6 separate regions of the Homo sapiens genome follow, and regions 1, 2, 4, 5 and 6 are each linked to region 3. Evidence: promoter capture Hi-C in human tissues and cell types (Jung and others, 2019). All regions are on one chromosome and are shown on one strand. The core of a region is centred on a gene start or on the middle of the fragment in contact, and the rest is flanking DNA. Distances in the headings are between cores, read along the strand shown. Region 1 overlaps FCHSD2 (FCH and double SH3 domains 2). Region 2 overlaps LOC105369376 (a long non-coding RNA gene). Region 3 holds the start of PDE2A (phosphodiesterase 2A). Region 4 overlaps ATG16L2 (autophagy related 16 like 2). Region 5 has its middle 68 kb from the start of LINC01537. Region 6 overlaps CLPB (ClpB family mitochondrial disaggregase).

Evidence for each region. The method cuts DNA at HindIII sites, captures the fragments that hold promoters and counts their contacts. A contact is called where the count stands out against the background at its distance.
Region 1: a fragment that was not itself captured here is called in contact with the fragment with the promoter of PDE2A in region 3 in 2 of the 25 tissues and cell types used here (mesenchymal stem cells and thymus).
Region 2: a fragment that was not itself captured here is called in contact with the fragment with the promoter of PDE2A in region 3 in 2 of the 25 tissues and cell types used here (IMR-90 fibroblasts and spleen).
Region 4: a fragment that was not itself captured here is called in contact with the fragment with the promoter of PDE2A in region 3 in 1 of the 25 tissues and cell types used here (spleen).
Region 5: a fragment that was not itself captured here is called in contact with the fragment with the promoter of PDE2A in region 3 in 1 of the 25 tissues and cell types used here (bladder).
Region 6: a fragment that was not itself captured here is called in contact with the fragment with the promoter of PDE2A in region 3 in 3 of the 25 tissues and cell types used here (dorsolateral prefrontal cortex, lymphoblastoid cells and spleen).

Annotation. Positions count from the first base shown.
Region 1 is chr11:72,873,434-72,876,133 of GRCh38, reverse strand. All of the region lies in intron 12 of FCHSD2 (FCH and double SH3 domains 2), which reads left to right. Among named protein-coding and RNA genes, the nearest start is that of ATG16L2, 60 kb to the right of the region's middle. The HindIII fragment of the contact is 4,492 bases long and covers 1-2,700 here.
Region 2 is chr11:72,531,032-72,533,731 of GRCh38, reverse strand. The region is part of intron 1 of LOC105369376 (a long non-coding RNA gene); the gene reads left to right. Among named protein-coding and RNA genes, the nearest start is that of LINC01537, 38 kb to the left of the region's middle. The HindIII fragment of the contact is 4,496 bases long and covers 1-2,700 here.
Region 3 is chr11:72,673,066-72,675,789 of GRCh38, reverse strand. It overlaps PDE2A (phosphodiesterase 2A), which reads left to right and starts at 1,368. Exons shown (of 31, transcript NM_002599.5): 1 at 1,368-1,653. The coding sequence starts at 1,583. RefSeq lists enhancers at 1-144, 295-919, 920-1,546, 1,547-2,172, 2,173-2,724. The HindIII fragment of the contact is 13,863 bases long and covers 1-2,724 here.
Region 4 is chr11:72,822,991-72,825,690 of GRCh38, reverse strand. ATG16L2 (autophagy related 16 like 2) reads right to left here. Exons shown (of 18, transcript NM_033388.2): 8 at 1,569-1,631; 9 at 849-957; 10 at 284-389. Among named protein-coding and RNA genes, the nearest start is that of ATG16L2, 9.9 kb to the right of the region's middle. RefSeq lists enhancers at 2,314-2,433, 2,484-2,593, 2,634-2,700. The HindIII fragment of the contact is 3,926 bases long and covers 1-2,700 here.
Region 5 is chr11:72,501,324-72,504,023 of GRCh38, reverse strand. No RefSeq gene overlaps it. Among named protein-coding and RNA genes, the nearest start is that of LINC01537, 68 kb to the left of the region's middle. The HindIII fragment of the contact is 3,554 bases long and covers 1-2,700 here.
Region 6 is chr11:72,419,191-72,421,890 of GRCh38, reverse strand. All of the region lies in intron 2 of CLPB (ClpB family mitochondrial disaggregase), which reads left to right. Among named protein-coding and RNA genes, the nearest start is that of CLPB, 14 kb to the left of the region's middle. RefSeq lists enhancers at 1-1,117, 1,800-2,486, 2,487-2,700. The HindIII fragment of the contact is 5,670 bases long and covers 1-2,700 here.

The DNA.
Region 1 (2,700 bases), core at 41-2,540, 200 kb before region 3:
AGGCTGCCTCAAACCTCGAATTCCTGGGCTCAGCAATCCTCCCACATCAGCCTTCCAAAATGTGGGGATCACAGGTGTCAGCCACTGTGCCAAGCCAACTAGTCATTTCTTTTGCTGGTTTTGCCTGAGGTTACTCAAGCAATTACTTTCAGCTAGAGGACTGGCCAGAGGGCTGGGCTCAGCTGTGATGGCTGGGTCTTTTCCCCATGTGGTCTTTCATCAGCATATAGGTTAAACTGGACTTCCCCAGCATGGTGGCAGCATATTTCAAGAAGTCAGATCCAAATAGCACTTACTGAGGGTCCTCTGTTTCCATTAAATTGGCAAATGCCCCACTAGCCAAAGCAAATCACATGGACAAGCCCAGAATCATGGTGGGAGTGGACTACATGGATACCAGGAAGCATGATTATTTGGGAACCTTTAATATAATGGTTTACCACAGTTGGTGTGACCTTGATTAAATCATTTTTCTCATCTATAAAATGGAGTTTTGGGGCTAGGGATGGTGGCTGACACCTCTAATTCCAGCATTTTGGGAGGCCAGGGCAGGAGGGCGGAAGGATCGTTTGAGGCCAGGAGTTTGATACCAACCAGGCAGCATAGCAAGACCCCATCTCTACAAAAAACTTTAACATTAGATGTGGTGGCATATGCTTCTGGTCCCAACTGCTCAGGAGAAATCCAAGGTTACAGTGAGCTATTATTGCACCACTGCACTCTAGCCTGGGCAGCAGAGCGAGACTCTGTCAAATAAATAATAGCTAGCTAGATAGATAGATAGAGTTTATAATATTGACCCCTAGAATTGTTTTGTGAATTAAATGAAATATATGATGATATAGTTCCTAGTACCTATGATAAAAGCTGTTTGGAGCTTTTTTTTAAGGTACCAAAGATGGAGTAGCAAATACTATTATCTACCATTATTGATTCTATTCTACAAGTAAACCACTGTCCTAAATAGTAATACATTACACACAGTCCTTGTCCTTAGAGAAGAGATATGTTAAAGGCAAATGAATTAGTCCAAATTAGATTTACAGACTTGAAATTCAACTATAGCTTTACACTTATATGTGTTTATGTTAAATGTTGTGTTAAAATCTAGGTAATTGACTGTGTTTATAAACCAAGATTATGTATCCTAAAAGATCTGGATTTTTAAAATACTATTTTTAAAAGCTCTGTCTCTTTAAAGCTTCCAAAAATGATTTGGTCAAGTAGTATCTGGAATGCCATCAAGTTTACAGAGAGCTATACTCTGAAAATTTTTAATAAGTTGGCAAATCATGAAAATTCATTTGAAAACACTAGAAAGTTCTGCTTTTAGACAATTTTTAACTTATAAGCAACTGAAATCCTAAAGGGAAGATAGCAGTGTTTAATTCTGGGACTGCAGTCTAAATCTGAGTTGGCAAATACCATGTTTATCTGTTGTTTGATAAAATACTGACAAAATCTTATAAAAACTGGATTACTTGAATAACTGCTTTGAGAAAATAGAATGTAGTGAATACTTCTCTCTTTTCTGCTTCAGCAATTAAATGACTTGCATATGTGATTTCTAAGAAAGAGCTTGTTGGTTCACTCTTTTAAAAAACAAAAATAAAAACATTTCATTGTTTTAAAATGAATACTAGAGGTCAGGCACAGTGGCTCGCACCTGTAATCCCAGCATTTTGGGAGGCTGAGGCAGGAGGATCACTTGAAGCCAGAAGTTCAAGACCAGCCTAGGCAACATAGTGAGACAGCTGTCTCTACAAAAAATTTTAAAAAATTAGCCAGGCATGGTGGCATGCACCTGTAGTCCTAGCTACTGGGAAGGCTACAGTAGGAGGATCACTTGAGCCCAGCAGTTCGAGGCTGCAGTGAGCTATTGTCATACCACCGCATTCCAGCTTGGGCAACAGTGAGACCCTGTCTCTTAAAAAAGCAAAAGCATACTACAATGGTGCTAGGGCAAGTGGATATCCATATGCAAAAGAATGAAGTTTGACCCTGTTAAAAGATAAACTTAGGCACATTAAATTTTTTTTTATTTGAGAAAATAGTGATAATTACTTGGGCAGCACCAGATCATATGCAGTTCAGGGTTCCACCAATGGAACACCAGAGGAATGCTTTTATAGGGTGAACTCAGAAGCAAAACAAAGCAAATATTTGATTGGTTAAAGTGGCACGGTAGTATCCTTTTTTGGATCATTCCAGTGGAAGGTTTCTAGTTAGAAGGTAGTTGGCAGTTTTTGATTGGTTAAGCTTCAGTTTTGTTTTACCATTTATACTGAGTTGAGTTTTGGTTTGCTTACGTAGGAACCCGGGATGCTGGAGCTGCCTCAGTTTAATGACCTTCCAGTTAATTATCTTAACAACCCCACTTTACATCATATATACAAACTAACTCAAAATGAATACCTAAATGTAACAGCGAAAGCTAATAAACTTACAAAAAAAACCACAGGGGTAAGTCTTTGTGGCCTTGGATTAGTTTCTTAGATATAACACCAAAGCCTAAGCAGCAAAAGAAAAACTAGATAAATTAGACATCATCAAAATTTAAAACTTTCATGTTTCAAATGACACTATCAAGAAAATGAAAGACAGCCCACAGAATGGGGGAAAATATTTGCAAATCATGTATCTGATAGAAACTTACTTCTAGAATATATTAAAACTCATAATAATAAAAAGGCAAAAATA
Region 2 (2,700 bases), core at 124-2,623, 140 kb after region 3:
TATCAGTGTTTAATGTTAACAATATATTTTTAAATCTGTAAATGATTCTGATCATAGACGATCATTTACCCATCAACCATAGAATATATATTCTTCTCATCTGTACACGGAACATACTCCAAGATCAACCACATGCTTGACCATAAGGTAAGTCCCAATTAGAAAAAAAAGAAATACCACCAACCGTAGTCTCAGATCAGAGTGGAACAGAAACAGACATCAATACAAAGAAGATCTGTCAAAACCACACAATTACATACAAATTAAACAACTTGTTCCTGAAAAACTGTTGGCTAAACAATGAAATTAAGGTAGAAATCAAAAAATTCTTTGAACTAAATGAAAACAGAGACACAACATACCAAAATCTCTGGGATTCAGCAGAAGTGGTATTAAGAGGAAAGTTTATTATGCTAAATGCCTACCTCAAAAAGTTAGACAGATCTCAAATTAACAGTCCAACCTCACACCTGGAGGAACTAGAAAAACTAACCCCAAAGCTAGCAGAAGAAGAGAAATAACTAAAATCAGAGTATCACTGAATGAAATGGAGACCCAAAATCCATACAAAGAATCAATGAAACCAAAAATTGATTCTTTGAAAGGATAAACAAGATCCATAGACTGCTAGCTAGATAACAAGGAAAAAAACAGAGAAGATCCAAATAAGCACAATCAGAAATGACAAAAGTGACATTACAACCAATCCCACAGAAATACAAATTATTCTCAGACTATTATAAACACCTGTAGGCACACAAACTAGAAAATCTAGAGGAAGTTGAAAAATTCCTGGAAACACAAAATCTCCCAAGATTTAATCAGGAAGAAATTGAAATTCTGAACAGACCACTATAGGGTTCCAGAATTGAATCAGTACTTTTAAAAACCTGCTAATCCCAAAAAGCCCTGGACCAGATGAAGTCACAGCTGGATTGTACCAGACATAAAAAGAAGAACTGGTACTAATCCTATGGAAACCGTTCCAAAAAATTGAGGAAGAGGTACTCCTCCCTAACTCCTCCTCCTGCCCTATGAAGCCAGCATCACCCTGATTCCAAAACCTGGCAAAGATACAATGAAAAAAGAATACTTCAGGCCAATATCCCTGATGAACATGGACACAAAAATCTTCAACAAAGTACTAGCAAACTGAAACCAGCTAATTCGCTATGATCAAGTAGGCTTCATTCCTGGGACGAAAGGCTGGTTCAACATACATGAACCAATAAGCGTGATTCACCAGACAAACAAAATTAAAAGCAGAATCCATATGATCATCCCAATAGACACAGAAAAGCTTTTGATAAAATTTAACATCCCATCATGATGAAAACTCTCAAGAAACTAGGCATCAAAGGAACGTACCACAAAATAATATGGGCCATCTATGACAAACCCACAACCTATATCATACTGAATGGACAAAAACTTGGAGCATTCCCCTTGAGAGCTGGAACAAGACAAGCATACTTAACTTTCACCACTCCTTTCAACATAGTACTGGAAGTCCTAGCCAGAGCAATCAGGCAAGAGAAAGAAATAAAAGGCATCCCACGGCCAGGTGCGGTGGCTCACGCCTGTAATCCCAGCACTTTGGGAGGCTGAGGCAGGCAGATCACAAGGTCAGGAGATCAAGACCATCCTGGCTAACATGGTGAAACCTGGTCTCCACTAAAAATACAAAAAATTAGCTGGGCGTGGTGGCGGGCACCTGTACTCCCAGCTACTCAGGAGGCTGAGGCAGGAGAATCACTTGAACCCGGGAGGTGGAGCTTGCAGTGAGCCGAGATCACGCCACTGCACTCCAGCCTGGGCAACAGAGCAAGACTCCATCTCAAAAAAAAAAAAAAAAAAAAGGCATCCCAATAGGCAAAGAAGTCAAACTATTTCTGTTTGCAGACGACATGATTTTATAACTAGAAAACTCTAAAGACTTTACCAAAAAGCTCCTGAAACTGATAAACCACTTCAGTAAAGTTTTGGAATACAAAATCAACATAGAAAAATTAGTAGCATTCCTATACACCAAAACTGTTCAAGCTGAGAGTCAAATCAAGAATACAATCCCATTTACAATAGTCACAAAAAGAATAAAATACTTAGGAATACATCTAACCAAGGAGGTGAAAGACCTATACAAGAAGAACTACAAAACACTGCTGAAATAAATTATAGATGACACAGACAATGGAAAAACATTCCATGTTCATGGATTGGGAGAATCAATATTGTTAAAATGGCCATATTGCCCAAAGCAACCTACAGATTCAATGGTATTCCTATCGAGATACCAATGTAATTTTTCACAAAACTAGAAAAAAACTATTCCAGAATTCATATGGAACAAAAAAAGAGTCTAAATAGCCAATGCAATTCTAAGCAAAAAGAACAAAGCCAGAGGCATCACATTACCCAACTTCACACTATACTATAAGGCTACAGTAACCAAAACACCATGGTACTGATACAAAAACAGACACATAGACCAATGAAGCAGAATAAAGAACCCAGAAATGGCCCGGCACGGTGGCTCATGCCTGTAATCCCAGCACTTTGGGAGGCTGAGGCGGGTGGATCACAAGGTCAGGAGATCGAGACCATCCTGGCTAACACGGTGAAACCCCGTCTCTACTAAAAAAAAATACAAAAAAATTAGCCAGCGTGGTGGCAGGTGCCTGTAGTCCCAGCTACTTGGGA
Region 3 (2,724 bases), core at 119-2,618:
AGGTTTCTATTCAGCCTCAGGGACTTCTCTGCTTGAAGCCTGTTGTGTGGCGGGGAGGTATTCTCCCCACAGCTCAGAGAGATGGGGTTGCTGTGGAGGGTTTGCTGTAGCTCCTCTACCCTGGAATATACCCTCTTCTGCCTTAAAAGACCCAGCTTGGACCCTCTCTTCCAGAAATGCTTGCTAACCGCCCCCCCACCACCCAAACTAGGTCAGGGGTCCCTCTGGGCTTCACAGACCCTGTGCTTCTTTCTGTCACAGCCTGCAAGTCTCCCCTCCCCACTCCCCAGCCCGAGTGCTTCTCTGAGACAAGGGATAGTGTGAGCCATGAGCTCAGCCACTGGTAGGCCAATGAATAAGTAAGTTAATGGTGAAGCCAGGATCCAAATCCCCATTTCCTGCCTCAAGGTGTGGAGCTGTTTCTCCTGCATACAATAGTAGCTCTGCTGTGACAACTCTCTATCTGTCCTAGGGCCTAAAATGCCTCTATTTCACTAGGTTATAGCTTTATCCTAGGGAGTCCTCTTTGGAAGCAGGGTGGGGGTGCAACAGGCCTTCCCCCATGCCTGTAGTCTGTGAGCAGCGAAGGCCATGTGGGGCAGGCTGTGGCCTAGGTCTCCACAGATCCTGGTAGAAGTCCATGCTCACGCATCAGCTCCAAGTCCCAGCTAAACCAAGCCACCAAGAGGTGGGCCCTGTGACAAGGCTCTGAGTCCAAAGGCCATCAGTAAAGCCCCCTAAGTCTTCCGTGGACCCAGCTCCAGGCTGGGATGCACGCTAGGAGATGATACACACCGGGTGAGGGAGCCCAGAGGAGAGGGCAGCTAGCTGTGCATGGAGGCCTGATCTCTCAGACTTGAGGGCACAAGCGTGTCCCCTCATCCTGAAGGCTTCTGCGATGGGGCAGCAGAGGGTCTGGGTCTGCTGCCCCTCAAGTCCCCAGCCCCATCCTAGCCCATGAGGATTGTAAATCCCTCGTCCTCTCCCCTCTCTCCTCTGTCAGCCACTCCCCTTTCCCCCTACCCCACTCTCTTTCTATTTCTGCCTCTGATTTTTTTTCCTTTTCTGCCTTTGTTCCTCTGTGTGTGTGTTTCTCTATGCCTCTCTGGTCTCTTTGTACTTCCATCTTGATCTCGCTAAGGCTCTGATCCCTCTCTCCTCTCCCTCTTCATGTGTTACTGTCCCCCTTCCTGTCTCTGTTTATCTCTCAGTCTCTCTGTCTGTGAGTCTTTTTTCCTCTCTCCCAGTCAGACTCTCTCTCTACCCCTCCCTCTCTCCCTCTCTCCCTCTCTGTCTGGGCCTCTCTCTGTTCCTCCTCCCTCCTCCCTCCCCCTTCTGCATTATCAGACCTGCTCCAACCTCCTCCCAGAGCCAGCCGAGCAGCAGAGGCAGTGGCAGCGGGAGAGGCGGGAGCAGCGGGGCAGCAGAGCTGGATTGGGGTGTTGAGTCCAGGCTGAGTAGGGGGCAGCCCACTGCTCTTGGTCCCTGTGCCTGCTGGGGGTGCCCTGCCCTGAACTCCAGGCAGCGGGGACAGGGCGAGGTGCCACCTTAGTCTGGCTGGGGAGGCGGACGATGAGGAGTGATGGGGCAGGCATGCGGCCACTCCATCCTCTGCAGGAGCCAGCAGTACCCGGCAGCGCGACCGGCTGAGCCGTGAGTATAGTGAGGGGCTGGGGTGGTGAGCGGCTGTGAGAGGTGCCACAGACAGGGTCCTGGGAGTCCCTCCAAGGAGCTGGGGTTGGCATGGAGCTGAGCCACGTGGAAGGATCGATCCTGTTCCTGGGCACCCCTCCTCCCCGCGTTGCCAGACTGCAGCCTGGGGTGGGGGCAGGTTACCTCTGAGCAGAATGAGGGTGTCTAACGTCAACCTAGTAGGTGATGAGGCTGGGGTCCCATGGAAGGGGCTGCTGGTTGGAGGAGGGGCTGATAATGAACCTGAACCGGTTCTTCAAGGGCTGAGGGTGTATGTGGGGAGGGGGAGGTCTGCCAAGTAGTTGGGAGGAGCTCTCGGGGCTGCAATAGGCTGGTTCAGGACCCGGAGAGGGAGAGTGTCTTGGCCCACCAAGGCTATGTGTGTGTGAAGGAGGTGGGGAGGGGGAAAGATGGAGAAAATATGAATAAGAGTGGCCCTGGAGCAAGAGAGGGTTAGAGGTAACCACCTTCCATGGAATTGGGAATTGGGGTTCAGGGACACCACTTTATGAAACTTTACCCCAAAGCGTCTGTCCCAGGATAGGGTTCTACGGAGCCAGATGGAATATGGTGCCAGCCTCGTGTGTGTCCACGTGCAGGGGGGTGCATGTGCAAGTGAGTGGGGGGCGCCGTGGCGACACCCCTCTACTAAGGGCTGCCGAGGTGGTAGGCAGGGTATGTGTGTGTGTGTGTGTGTGTATACATGTGGAATGTAAGGGACATGTTGGGTGTAGAGGGGCCTGTAGAGCTCTAGGGTCCTTGGTGGTTGGATGTAAAGCAGCCTGTCAGAGTTTGTGATCATCCCTGTGTGAGTGAGAGTTTATTCGCATGTGTCTGAGTGTGAGTGCAGGTTGGTCTGCATATGTATGTAGGTGTGTCTATTAGGTTGAGTTTGTATATTATGTGTGTTGTGTCTGCAAAATAGAGTGAATCAGTGTGCATTTTTTATCTGTTCCATGTGCATTTATGTGTGTGTATTTGTTAGTGTGTGAATAATAGCATTGCTGTGTGTGGAGGTGGATGTGGCTGTGT
Region 4 (2,700 bases), core at 8-2,507, 150 kb before region 3:
GGACCTCATGATAGGGGACCCCCACCAATCCCCATCAGGGACCATCTGAACTCAGCCCTCCCCATCCTGCAAATCTGGACCCTAGGAGCCAGGAGGCTCCACCCTTCTTCAGAACAGTGAGCCCAGAGTCTCACTCTTTCCAAGGCATTGTCTAGTCACTGCCCACAGAATATTCCAGATAGAGAAACACAAAGAGATCCAAGACCTCTGCCCACCAAGGAGTGAGCTGAGGAGAGGGTCTGGAGAGAAGCACCAAGTTGGCCGGCAGGGGAGGGCTCCTTACTTCCCACAACATTCCAGAGGTGGATCAGGCGGTCAGCCCCTCCAGTGGCCAGGAGGCTGCTGTTGGGGCCAAAACGAACAGCATTGACCTCAGAGAGGTGGGCATCCTGTGGGGAAAGGGGAGGTTGGTGCCCCGGCCCTCCCCGCGCATGTCTCTGTGAGTGCTCACGGGCCCTCTTACCGGTGCCTGTGCAGACACAGCCTGCTGCAGACGTGGTATCTCCCTCCCCAGTTTCTCTGTCCACACTCTGAGTTTCAAACCCGGCCCCACCAGGTGTTCTCACCTCTGCCTGGACCCCTGCAGCAGCCTCCGTGCTATGCTACTCTACTCTCCTGCCTGGCCTCCTGGCCTCCCAGCCTCCTCTCTCTCCCTCCCCGGCTTATGCCCACATCATAACATGCTTGAGTGGCTCCCACCACAGGCTGTGGGAGGCAGCCTCCTGCTCCTGCTGAGGAGCCCAGCCTTGCTTCCCTGGCCTCTTGGGACCACCCCTGGTGCCGAGACCACCCCTGTGCCTGCACTCTCTCACCACTGCCCCACCCATGTGGCTCAGCTCCTCCCTTACCAGCACATCCTGAGCCCGGGTAGGAAGTCGGGCAGCCACACACACAGGGATGATCTGGTATCGCTGCTCAGGGGCTCCCCCAATTGAGTGACCTCTCCTCTTCTTAAAACTGGGGTAAGGTGGGTTGGGGTCAGGAGGGCATTCAGCAAGTCCTTCTCAGGTGGGAGCCTCCAGCTCCCCTGAGGCATCAACCATAGGAAGCAGACATGGCAGGCGGCAGAACATGGCCCCAAGGAGCAGCGAGAGCATTCCCCAACCCAGCCTCGACCCCAGGGGTTGGTGTGGAGACGGGGTGGGGAGCACACAGAGGCAGACACAGGAGCAGGGTAGGGTTGGTGGGTGCAAAGAAACCTCAGGGCCGGGGTTTCAATCCCAGTCTTGCCACTGCTTGGCTCTGTGACTCTGAATGAGTCCCTGACATTTCAGAGCATTTTTCCCAATTGAGTAGGAGCTCCTGCCCTGCCTGAGGCTGGAGCTCTTGGTCCCCTGTGACGACCTTGGATGAAGACAGACCCTTGTGAGGACAGAACCTGGAAGACAGCTGAACCGGGGCCGGGGCTGAGGCCATTCACCTGGCTCCTGTCTCCAAGGCCCAACAGACTCACAGGCAGACAGCTGCACATCACAGGGATGGACAGGTCGAGGCACAGACACAGACCAAGCCTGGGCTGGGGAGCCCGACACACACGTGGGTGCACACACAGGCACACACACACTTACTCCAGAAGCCCCTTCACCACATCCACACAGTGGGACAGCGTCAGGGAGGTGGCTGAGGCAGACCTGAGACAAAACCAAGAGAGATATGCTAAGGGACTGGCTGGTGTGTGTACAAATGGCTGTCCATCATCTCCACACTTTGCCAGAGACCTGGAGGCTTGTAACCTCTCAAGTCTGGGATAAGAACTTGACTTCTCCAAGATCAGGAGACCAGGGTGACCCAGATCAGTCCCAGGAAGGTCGGGGCAGCAATGGATTTGGTAATGAAAGTCTCCCAAGGTCTCCCTCATGATGGGAAGAACTGCCTTACCCTACTAGTACCCACCAACAAAAGTTCCTGGGAAGCTGAGCCGGGGCCTACAGGGAGGAGAGACGCTGAAGGTTCCCCCAGGCTGGGGATGGGAGGAGGGGGGAGCCTAGGCTCACTGGGTGACCTCAGCAATGCCCAGGAGAGGGTGTGTCCTACAATGACTTGGCCCACAAGGGCTCCCAAGGACTTTGGGGACTGGCATCTCATGCCCCTCCCCACGGTTTCTTCACTGCCCCAAGGCCTGGACACCAGGGACCTGCAAGGAAAGACTGAGAAGAGGTGTTAGGCTGGGGAATGGCGCCCAGAGCGGGCAGCCTCAATGACAGGCAAATCAAGAAGGATGGAGGAGACCCTGCGGACAGGCACCCAAGGTCTGAAGCCCCAATCAGGTCCCACAAGTGTGAGCACACATCTACACATGCTTATATATTCACACATACAGACGGGCTCAGTCAAGCTTGTACACACCTGTGGCCTCATGTCCCTGCGGATGCACATGCTTGCACACCTATGGCTGCGCACACATGCCTGGCATGACTGGGCTCTGGGCTTTGCCCACAGGTTCTCTCCTGGTGACAGCTATTCAGAAGCCTGACTCCCCACCCCCAGAGCTCTGATCCCAAGAAGGAGGGAAAGGGTTGAGGGTAGGGGTTGGGGGGGTGAGATGGAACTGACCCCAAGTGGCTCCAGACAATGGAGGTCAGACTAGCCCTGGGAGATCTGAGCTTTCTGGCCTCTCCTCAAGCCCCCTCCCAACCCAAGAGCTGGCTCCAAGGTCCAAGAGGAAGACCCTGGCAGCCTCTGGGGTGGGGCTCAGCTCAG
Region 5 (2,700 bases), core at 127-2,626, 170 kb after region 3:
TTCCTAGAAACATGCAACCTGCCAAGATTGAACAAGGAATAAATTGAATCCTTGGAGACCAGTAATGAGTTCCAAAAGTGAATCAGTAATAAAAAGCTTACCAACAAGAAAAAGCCCAGGACCAAAGAAATTCACAGCCAAATTCTACCAAATGTATGAAGAAGAGCTGGTACCATTCCTACTGAAGCTATTCCAAAAAACTGAGAAGGAAGGACTCCGCCTTAACTCTTTCTTTGAGGCCAACATCATTCTGATACCAAAACCTGGCAAAGACACACAAAAAAAGAAAACTTCAGGCCAATATCCTTGATGAACATAGATGTAAAAATCCTCAACAAAGTACTAGCAACCTGAATCCAGCAACACATCAAAAAGCTAATCCACCACTCAAGACCTCATCTCTGCTCTCCCTCTCCCTCTCCCTCTCCCTCTCCCCCTCCCCCTCCCCACAGTCTCCCTCTCTTTCCATGGTCTCCCTCTCTTTCCACGGTCTCCCTCTCTTTCCACGGTCTCCCTCTCATGCGGAGCCGAAGCTGGACTGTACTGCTGCCATCTCGGCTCACTGCAACCTCCCTGCCTGATTCTCCTGCCTCAGCCTGCCCAGTGCCTGCGATTGCAGGCACGCGCCGCCATGCCTGACTGGTTTTGGTGGAGATGGGGTTTCGCTGTGTTGGCCGGGCGGGTCTCCAGCCCCTAACCGCGAGTGATCCGCCAGCCTCGGCCTCCCGAGGTGCCGGGATTGCAGACGGAATGTCGTTCACTCAGTGCTCAATGGTGCCCAGGCTGGAGTGCAGTGGCGTGATCTCGGCTCGCTACAACCTCCACCTCCCAGCCGCCTGCCTTGGCCTCCCAAAGTGCCGAGATTGCAGCCTCTGCCCGGCCACCACCCCGTCTGGGAAGTGAGGAGTGTCTCTGCCTGGCCGCCCATCGTCTGGGATGTGAGGAGCCCCTCTGCCTGGCTGCCTAGTCTGGAAAGTGAGGAGCGTCTCAGCCCGGCCGCCATCCCATCTAGGAAGTGAGGAGCGCCTCTTCCCGGTCACCATCACATCTAGGAAGTGAGGAGCGTCTCTGCCCGCCGCCCATCGTCTGAGATGTGGGGAGCGCCTCTGCCCCACCGCCCCATCTGGGATGTGAGGAGCGCCTCTGCCCAGCCGCGACCCCGTCTGGGAGGTGAGGAGCGTCTCTGCCCGGCCGCCCCATCTGAGAAGTGAGGAGACCCTCCGCCTGGCAGCCACCCCGTCTGAGAAGTGAGGAGCCCCTCCGCCCGGCAGCTGCCCCATCTGAGAAGTGAGGAGCCTCTCTGCCCGGCAGCCACCCCATCTGGGAAGTGAGGAGCGTCTCCGCCCGGCAGCCACCCCGTCCGGGAGGGAGGTGGCGGGGGTCAGCCCCCCGCCCGGCCAGCCGCCCAGTCCGGGAGGGAGGTGGGGGGTCAGCCCCCCGCCCGGCCAGCCGCCCCGTCCGGGAGGGAGGTGGGGGGTCAGCCCCCCGCCAGGCCAGCCGCCCCGTCAGGGAGGGAGGTGGGGGGTCAGCCCCCCCGCCCAGCCAGCCGCCCCGTCTGGGAGGTGAGGGGCGCCTCTGCCCGGCCGCCCCTACTGGGAAGTGAGGAGACCCTCTGCCCGGCCAGCTGCCCCGTCCGGGAGGGAGGTGGGGGGTCAGCCCCCCGCCCGGCCAGCTGCCCCGTCCGGGAGGTGAGGGGCACCTCTGCCCGGCCGCCCCTACTGGGAAGTGAGGAGCCCCTCTGCCCGGCCAGCCGCCCCATCCGGGAGGGAGGTGGGGGGGTCAGCCCCCCGCCCGGCCAGCCGCCCCGTCCGGGAGGGAGGTGGGGGGGTCAGCCCCCCTGCCCGGCCAGCCGCCCCGTCCCGGAGGGAGGTGGGGGGTCAGCCCCCCGCCCGGCCAGCCGCCCCGTCCGGGAGGTGAGGGGCGCCTCTGCCGGGCCGCCCCTACTGGGAAGTGAGGAGCCCCTCTGCCCGGCCACCACCCCGTCTGGGAGGTGTGCCCAACAGCTCATTGAGAATGGGCCAGGATGACAATGGCGGCTTTGTGGAATAGAAAGGCGGGAAGGGTGGGGAAAAAATTGAGAAATCGGATGGTTGCCGTGTCTGTGTAGAAAGAAGTAGACATGGGAGACTTTTCATTTTGTTCTGCACTAAGAAAAATTCTTCTGCCTTGGGATCTTGTTGATCTGTGACCTTACCCCCAACCCTGTGCTCTCTGAAACATGTGCTGTGTCCACTCAGGGTTAAATGGATTAAGGGCGGTGCAAGATGTGCTTTGTTAAACAGATGCTTGAAGGCAGCATGCTCATTAAGAGTCATCACCACTCCCTAATCTCAAGTAATCAGGGACACAAACACTGCGGAAGGCCGCAGGGTCCTCTGCCTAGGAAAACCAGAGACCTTTGTTCACTTGTTTATCTGCTGACCTTCCCTCCACTATTGTCCCATGACCCTGCCAAATCCCCCTCTGTGAGAAACACCCAAGAATTATCAATAAAAAAATAAATGAAAAAAAAAAAAAAAGCTAATCCACCACAATCAAGCAGGCTTTATCTCTGGGATGCAAGGTTGGTTCAACATATGCAAATCATTATATGTAATTCATGACATAAACAGAAACAAAAACAAAACACACATGATCATCTTAATAGATGCAGAAAAGGCTTTTGATAAAATTCAACATTCCTTTATGTTAAAAACCCTG
Region 6 (2,700 bases), core at 174-2,673, 250 kb after region 3:
AAGCAGTTCTACAGAGTGGCGTAGTGCCTGGCTTCTTTTCTGGGGTATGTGGCTTGCTGAGGCTCTGATTGCTTGTTCCCTGGTGATGGAAGGCAATTGGGAAAGGTTGGATTAGCAGCTTCTCTATAACTTCATGGGTAGGTGAGTTGTGGGAGCAGGTGGTCAACTGCCCAGAAGCCCTGCAGAGGCAGGCAGTTGGCCATGAGCAGAGAACAGCCAGGGCCTAACGCAGTGGGCCTGGAGGGAGGGGTCATGTCACTGAAAAGGAGCACAGCCAGCCCTGTGTGGCCTTGGGCTAGTCTCTCAGTTTCCTCGGGGGCCTCCACTGTAAAGTATCTTTGATGATACTTGTCTCATCACTCTCCCAGGATCTTGTGAGCATTCCAGGCAGGTGAGTCCTTGTCTGGAAAATTCCTCATCCTTCGGTCATCACTGTCACATCTTCCTGAAAGCCTTCCCTGATCCCCCAGTGATACGGCTCTGATGAGTGGAGGGACACCAGTGCTCCTGTCTCATGTCGAATTAGATAAGATGACACGGAAACACGTGGATTGGTTTTAAGGAGCAGAGAGTTTAGTAGGGAAGGAGGGGCAAGAAGGAAGGGAGAAGGAAGAAGCTCCCCTGTACAGAGACAGAGGGAGGGGGCTCCAAAGCCAAGAGAGGGAACCCCACCTGCCATGGATACCAGCCAGGTATATACAGAGGCTGGAGGAGGTGGTATCTGATTTGCATAGGACTCAAGGGATTGGTTTGACTAGGTATGTCATTCATGTACCCTGCAAAAAAGCTGGTCCTCCCACCCTAGCATTTTAATATGCAAATGCAGGGCACCATGTCCTGAGTAGCTGGGATTACAGGCATGCGCCACCACACCCGGCTAATTTTGTATTTTTAGTACATATGGGGTTTCTCCATGTTGGCCAGGCTGGTCCCGAACTCCCGACCTCTGGTGATCCGCCCGCCTTGGCCTCCCAAAGTGCTGGGATTACAGGCGTGAGCCACTGCGTTCTGCTGGGTAGACCCAGTTTTTTTAATGGCCTTCATTTGTATATCAAAGGTTGCCGACTGGCTCTAAGAACGGGGCTTTACCAGAAACTTCTGGAGATGCTTTAAAAAACGAAAATTTCCCAAGGACCTCTCCCTCTCTTATCTGCCTGAAATAGTTTCTTAATAACTCCTACAACACCAGTATCTGTGGATTCCCATAGCACCCTGTACTATATAAGTGAGAGCACTTACCACCTTCTGTTGGGATGGGTTATCTGTTTCCTTCTCTCCCTCACAACACTGTGAGTTTTGGAGGGCAGCAGACCATTGCTGTGTTGTTCATCACTGTGCATGTAAATAGTTACCAAATACTCACTGAATATTATTGAAAGTTTTTTTTTTTTTCCCCTGAGATGGAGTCTTGCTCTGTTGCCCAGGCTGGAGTGCAGTGGCACAATCTCGGCTCACTGCAACCTCTGCCTCCTGGGTTCAAGCCATTCTCCTGCCTCAGCCTCCCGAGTAGCTGGGATTACAGGCGACAGCTACTGCGCCCAGCTAATTTTTGTATTTTTAGTAGAGACGGAGTTTCACCATGTTGGCTGGTCTTGAACTCCTGACCTCTTGATCCGCCCACCTCGGCCTCCTAAAGTACTGGGATTACAGGCGTGAGCCACCATGCCCAGCCATTGAAAGCGTTTTGTGTTTTTGTTTGTTTGTTTATTTAATTGAGACAAGATCTCATCATGTTGCACAGGCTGGTCTTGAACTCCTGGGCTCAAGCAGTCCTGCCTTGGTCTCCCAAAGTGCTGGGATTACAGGTGTGAGCCACCACGCCTGGCTAAAAGTGTTTTGTAAATGATAAAAATTAAGCAAACTGTGTAGCTATTACAGTCATAATAAACCTGTAGACAGAGGACAAACAAAAATGAAGTAGTTCAATCGTTTATTCATTAAACAAATAGTGCCTACTATGTGTGGCACTGTGCTTGGTAGATCAGTAGTCAGACATGTACAGGATTTGCCTCATGGAGCTCAAAGCCTTGTCAGACGTGAATCCTACAAATGCGAAATGACAACTAGTACAAATGCTGCAAAGGAAGGACACAGAGAATCAGGAGAGCCTGTGACAGCCAGATTTCCCCTGGTCAGAGGAAGCTTGAGCTTGGAATTGAAGGATAAGGAAGAGTTTATCTAGGTGGAAAAGGTTGGGAAGAGCTCTCTAGCACAAGGAACTTTTATTTACAAGAATCCTGCATGAGGAGGAAGCAAGGCCAGTGTGAAGGACTGAAAAAGGCCAATGGTACTCCAGCTAGAGGAAGGTGCCAGGAGCCTAGAACAAGCAGACCCTACAGGGCATCAGAGGCCACATGAAGAAGCTTTGTCTTTATTTTTATGGCAGTGGCAGCTGAGATGGGTTGAGAGGGGATCAATATGATCAGTAGCCATTCTGATGGCTGAGGAACATGAGGAACTAATGTGAGTGCCTTCCTGCTTGTATGTGCCAGGCATCATCTTGGGCATGGTCCTGCCTCTTGAGGCAGTGTAGGCCACAAAGCTGTAATCGCTCAGGGCCTAACAGCAGGGGCAGTTGTCAGGCTCTGCCTCCCTACCATCATTTATGTCGCCCAAGTGCTATCTCTCCTCTAAAATCCCAGCTTAATCAAAATCATAACGCAATTCATGTCAGCACCGCCAGAACCAACTGGAATTTTT